Linked DNA regions of Homo sapiens: region 1 is linked to region 2. Evidence: promoter capture Hi-C in 16 types of primary human blood cells and fetal thymus (Javierre and others, 2016). All regions are on one chromosome and are shown on one strand. The core of a region is centred on a gene start or on the middle of the fragment in contact, and the rest is flanking DNA. Distances in the headings are between cores, read along the strand shown. Region 1 has its middle 650 kb from the start of GJE1. Region 2 holds the start of CITED2 (Cbp/p300 interacting transactivator with Glu/Asp rich carboxy-terminal domain 2).

Region 1 (3,075 bases), core at 255-2,754, 2.1 Mb after region 2:
ACAATTATTTTAGTTGCCTACCACACCTAAGAAGATGATTCTCAGGAAGATCTCCAAAATCAATGGGCAAAAACCCATGTCTGCCATTTGTCAAAGCCCACACATTTATCCTCAGCCATGGCATGAGAACAATGGCTTCTGCTCTTCTACAACACCAAGAAATTTTCTCTTATCACTTAGATACAACTGAACCCCAATGGCAATGAAGCTTGTTTCCAGTCTTTATGTCCCTGTGAAATAAGAAACAACTTACAAATTTAGAGATGATAATACAGCAACAATATCTGAAAGAACTACACTTGAACACAAGAATTCAAACCCTAAAAGTAATAAAGTAATACCAATAATGATGTTATTTCACATACAGCTGTTCAATTGGATAATCACTGAATTGTCCTTACCGTTTAATTTATTTTTCTCCAGACTTACTCTATATGAACTATTCAACAATAGCAACAAAATAAATCAATAAATAATAAACAAGAGAGGTGAAGAATAATATCATGTGATTGATTTTTCTCTTCTTGAGAGCTTGTTTGGAAGTTCTAGCAGGGAAGCCCATCTACTCACGTGCCCTTGACTGAAGATGGGTCCTTCTCCATCGCGGATGGTCATCCTCTTTTACCGAGCACACAGCTTTGGAAGGAACGCATATGGAGTGGTGAGGAAGGAAGGGAACACCTGTCTAGTCAACCAGATCTGCTGCACCAACCCTGGCAATCAAATGGTTGATAGATGTTGCTCTTAGATTGCCCTCATATCCATAATTTTTCTCTTCTTCTTCTTCTTCCTTTTACCAAAACAACTACAACAACAACAAAACAAATAACTTTAATTTTGAAATGGCATTATGAGAAAAGGGTTCTGTATCGTGCTAATCCTTTTTTTTTTTTTTTTTTTTTTGAGACAGAGTCTGGCTCTCTCGCCCAGGCTGGAGTGCAGTGGCGTGATCTCGGCTCACTGCAACCTCTGCCTCCTGGGTTCAAATGATTCTCCTGCCTCAGCTTCCTGAGTAGCTGGGATTACAGAAGCTCACTACCACGCTCAGCTAATTTTTGTATTTTTAGTAGAGACGGGGTTTCACCACGTTGGCCAGGCTGTTCTCGAACTCCTGACCTCATGATCCGCCCACCTCAGCCTCCCAAAGTGCTGGGATTACAGCTGAGCCACCACACCCAGCCTGTGCAAATACTTTTTATGAGGAAATCATAGAAAAAGTATCTGTTAGTTGACAGGCAGTATCCATATTACAGTGTTTGGTTTGAGCACTTGAGTTGTTCTGAAGCTAGGTTACCATGAAAATAAATACAGTGATACTTGGAATCAGAGAACACATATGGTCAGCATTTTCCAGATGGCATATTTATGTCAAATGTATAGACATTATAAGAAAAAATATTATAAGTCAATATTAAGAAGACTCTCTAAATATTTAGGTAAATACAATGCACTGTTCCCTCCGCCCAGAAATAGAGTATGATCCTGGCACCTTGCCAAGAAACACATAGAAATATCCTTGTACGTTGTGCTTATAGTAGATAATCTGAAAAGTTTCATCCAAATCTTAAATTCTAGATATGAATAGTTTGTAATAAAGTGTTAGAAGGATCAAGATTAAAAATTATTTGCATATGGTTCCCAACGCCTCTTAGTAATCAGTGGATGATAAGTTCCTTGTAACTTATTTTAATAAAAAGTCTTGAGTACAGAATGTGAGTATATTATAGACTAAATATTTATATTCCTTCCCCCAGATTCATATATTGAAGGCCTAACTGCCAATATGACTGTATTTGTGTATTTGGGGAAGAAGCCTCTACAGATATAATTAAGGTTAAATAAGATCATTAAATTGGGACACTAATCCAATAGAAATAATGTCTTTATAAGAAGAAACACCAGAGAGAAAAATAACTTTCTCCTCTCTCTCACTCTCTCTCTTTCTCTCTCTCTCTAGCTGTCTCTCCAGGAGGACACAAAGAAAAGATCAAGACAGCATGTAGCAAATGTAGCAAGGAGGCATCCAATCATCTGCAACCCAAGGGGCAAACCCTCGCCACACACCAACCCTGCTGGCTCCTTGCTTTTGGACTTCCAGTTTCAGAATTATGAGAAAATACATTTCTGTGTTTAGGCCATCAAGTCTATTGTATTTTGTTCTGACAGCCTGAACAGACTAATACACAGTATAATACAATTGAATTGTTGATTCATCTAAGAAATATATAATTTCTACATGGTTTGTTGCAATTATCTGGGAATAAATATTACCATGACCACTTATTCAGAACTTGATATCTGTATTTATTTCTAAGCATGCATATAATCCCATTACTTGGTAGTCATTTGAATGTATGTTCCACACTTACACCAAAAAGTGATAATAGTATTGACTTCATATAAGAAGTCTTGATAGTCAGTAGTATTGACTTCACATAAGAAAATATTATAAATTAATTCCAATTCCAATTTATGAAGATATTATAAATTTAATATCTCTGAATGTAAATTCTCGGTTGTTCTAGATATAAAAATAAATTATTGATTTATTTTGCTAAGCTACTATAAAACACAATAAAATTTAAAAGCCTCAATTTTGCTGATTGTTTACTATTACAAATCATGCTGGAATGGACATTCTCATATTCTGTTTAGTCTTAATCCTTCCCCCACCAAATCCAATGGAGTCAAGGATTTGGACACAGACACTTTATTTTGAAGTTGATCCCAGGCACCAAAAATGAGAAAAGAAAGAAAGGGAAATAGGTAAGAGAAAAGGGGCAATAAAGTTACGTCTTAACAAGCTTGAGTACCACAGTTAACAACTGAGTCACAATCCCACTGGGGATTGTAAGGAACATACCTTGGGTTAGTTCTACCCCAGTACAAGGAAGCTACAGGATTTAGCCATTGCCTTTTAGCCCCAATTGTTGAGGATTTCCCTTAAGTAGTGTTAACACAGGCACATACTGAGTGTTCCTGTGTCCAGCATTTCTATCTCATTTGTTTTCAGAGAAACGGCTTAAGTGGAGAAGGGTGATGCAGAAACAGGAAGTTACAGTCTAGCAGCAGGTC
Region 2 (3,117 bases), core at 341-2,840:
CTAAGGGAATGTTTCTTTTAATTCACGCCGAAGAAGTTGGGGGTTTGATTTCTTTCGCCGGGGTTTCGATCGAGTCAACAGCTCACTCTGCTGGGCTGCTGTTTGCACACGAAGTCCGTCATAAAATCAAACTCGTTTTGCCCCAGCCAGAGTTCGGGCAGCTCCTTGATGCGGTCCAAACCCATTTCTATCACCAAGGACATAAGAACTTCCTCGTCGATGAAATCAGTGTCTATGACATTGGGCGGCAGCATTGCAGCGGGGACGTGGGCCACGGAGGCGGGCATGTTGCCGCTGCCGCTGCCGCCGCCGCTGTTGCTGCTGCCCGCGCCGCCGCCCGAGCTGCTGCCAGAGCCGCCGGGGGTGCTGCTGCCGCCCGAGCCGCCGGGGGTGCTGCTGCCGCCGCTGTGCTTGGGGTTGCAATCTCGGAAGTGCTGGTTTGTCCCGTTCATCTGGTGGCCTGCAGCAGGGTGCAAATCCGGCATGTAGTGGTTGTGGGGGTAGGGGTGATGGTTGAAATACTGGTTGTTGAGCTTCTGCAGCTGCATGCTGGCCGGCAGGGAGCCTCCCTGGCTGGCCACCGGGGGACCCATGAACTGGGAGTTGTTAAACCTGGCCGCGGGGGCCAGCGCGCTCGGGGGGTGCCCTCCGTTCACAGTCCCCGGCCCCATCGCATGCCTGATGCCGCTCGTGGCATTCATGTTGCCCGCGCCGTAGTGTATGTGCTCGCCCATTAGGGCGTTGAAGGCGTGCTGGGGCTGCTGCTGCTGGTGGTGATGGGGGCTCGGGAACTGCCCCATGCCCATGCGGTGGGCAGGGTGATGGTGCAGCCCATTGGTGCCGTCGGGGAAGCGCCCGTGGTTCATGGCCATCATATGGTCTGCCATTTCCAGTCCTGGAAGTGAAAAGGGCAGATAATGAGACCCGCGCCACACGTGTCGCCCACCACAGCGCACCCCACTTTTGCTCGCCTCTGCCCCCCAGGATTCCCGGGCGCACGTCGGCTGCGAACCACCACCCCCAAGATCCCACTAACAGCCTGTGCACCCGGGCTAGCCACCACGGAAGAGCTACCACTCATAACACAGCCGGACGCTGCACAAACAGCCCCTTCCCCTGCGATCGGGCGGGGGGACCCGAGCCCACACCCCCTTTGCTCCCCGAAGTGGCCTAATAAAGGAAGTGCCCCGTAGCCCTGCTGCGAACTTCAGGCATTAAATCAGCCCTCCTCATCCTGTTGTTGCACATCCTGTTGTTATTCCCCAGCTTCGCCTCACGCTCTTCCTCCGGGCAAACCCTGCCCTCGGAGGACTGGGCTGGCAAGAGCCCCAGCCAGCTTCGCCCGTCGCGCTTACCTTCCGTTTTTGCGATTTCTGCTCCGAAGACCGAGGGCGGGCTCGTCGCGTCCAGGACCGGCTCAGCAGCACATAGAGGGGACCTTCCTGGCGTGCAAAGCGCTTCGCTGTCGCGATGTCGGCGCCGAGGTCTCGCAGCGGCCGCTGGGGCAGATTCGGAGCCGTTCCCTTTTATTTCCCCTCCGTTGCCCTCACAGCTCGGCAGGACCGCCCGGCAGCTGCCAACAATGAGCTGTGTTTCTTAGGGCTTTGGCCACAGTTAATATAGGCATTTCGGAAAGGCGGAGCGAGAGCCTCCAGGGCGGGCGGCGCCAAGACGCGGATTCCGGAACACCGCGAACACCCTGGACCGGGTCCCGGAGCCGCGTCCCCGCCGCCCGCGGCACGTGCTGCAGAGGCTGCGGGGCCCGGGGGCCGCCCAGTCGCCCCGTCGCCCCCCGACTCTGGTTTCTTCCCGGCCCAGAAACGCGAGGTTGGCTCAGCCACCCCCGAGGCAGGGGGAAAATCCTCCCCTGCCGCCCCGCCCGAAGGTAGAGCCTGCCGGGATAGCCACGAGGAGAGCTCACCGCCCCCCTCAGGCTGGATCTACCCCACCCCCAGCTTTCTCACTCGGTTCACCTAGCGATCTGCCCCGCTCTCTACGGGAAAAGGGGACTCGCCCAGCGCCCCCCGCCCTCCAGAGTGCCCTTGTGCCTCCCCGGTTTTGCAAAAGCTTCCACAGGCAGCGAAGAATGGCTGTGCTTCCTCGAGTTGGGTTTTAAAGACCCGGACAAATAATGCGCCCTTTCCTGAGCGCGCCTTCCTAGGCTGTGCCTTTGTGTTTTCATACGGGCAGTGGGTAGACCTACTCTAGATCACCGCTTGTAGATGCATTTTTTTCCTCCACTCCTTTCAAGGACAGGAGCTGGGGGCGGGGAGGGGCAGCCGCTGCAGGTGGACGGAGCGCGCTCGAGGGCCCGGCCACCCCCGCTCCCGCGCCCTGGAATTCCAGTCCGCGCTTTCGGGCCCGCCTGCCGCTCCCGGGGTACGTGTGCTTCTGCTAAGTTTGCGTTTGCAGCTCTTGGTAGCTTTGGCATCCGAGCTGAGGCGTCTCTGCTCTGTAAACAAACTCAGCGATCCTCGTCCCCAGATCCACCTTTTTGCACATACACAGTTACTTGCTTCTGCTGTTGCCCTGGATCCGGGAGGTGGGGGTGTGTACAAACTTGCAGAGCCTCCCTCCGGGCTCTGCCTGACGGTTTGGGGTTGATTTAGAAGCAAACGGGTTTGTAATTAAGAAATTTGAGGGCTGAGTAAGGCTGCTCTTGCTGGAAAAGGAAAACAAATAGATAACGTGGTAATCGCTTTGTAAATAAAGTCGTTCTGGAGGTGGGCACGTAGCTGCACGTCCCGTATGGCACCACGCGCACACACACGGCTGGGACTCTTCCTTTTCAGTGAAATTGTTCAGTGGGGCAATGGGCGATAATAATAACCTTGCTTCCACAACGCGGCACAACGAGCCTGGTCGCCCGTTTGGTTCATTGACTTGCAAATAAAACCCCTAACACAGGTCTGGGCTACTACCAAGTCGGAGCTCTCTGGCTTTCTCACATGGGGAAGCCGAGTTGTTTCCCCAACACCATGATGGGGCTGTTCTGAGCTTTTACATTGCTCTTTATGTGGTAAAATCGAGTTTAGCGCTCCGAATAAGGACTTCTGGGCAGTTGTTTCTTCATAACTCGATAGCCATTGAAGACTTCCTGCTGCGAAGAGCGAGTCC

What was found. The method cuts DNA at HindIII sites, captures the fragments that hold promoters and counts their contacts. A CHiCAGO score of 5 or more calls a contact.
Region 1: a contact is called between a fragment that was not itself captured here and the fragment with the promoter of CITED2 in region 2, in 1 of 17 cell types (naive B cells). The highest score is 6.3, in naive B cells.

What each region holds. Positions count from the first base shown.
Region 1 is chr6:141,485,650-141,488,724 of GRCh38, forward strand. It overlaps the pseudogene RN7SKP106. Among named protein-coding and RNA genes, the nearest start is that of GJE1, 650 kb to the right of the region's middle. RefSeq lists a silencer at 2,950-3,075. The HindIII fragment of the contact is 2,596 bases long and covers 207-2,802 here.
Region 2 is chr6:139,373,058-139,376,174 of GRCh38, forward strand. It overlaps CITED2 (Cbp/p300 interacting transactivator with Glu/Asp rich carboxy-terminal domain 2), which reads right to left and starts at 1,591. Exons shown (of 2, transcript NM_006079.5): 1 at 1,356-1,591; 2 at 1-895. The coding sequence starts at 887. The coding sequence ends at 75. RefSeq lists silencers at 300-399, 970-1,119, 1,580-1,959, 2,130-2,439 and enhancers at 690-749, 1,260-1,429. The HindIII fragment of the contact is 2,760 bases long and covers 1-2,065 here.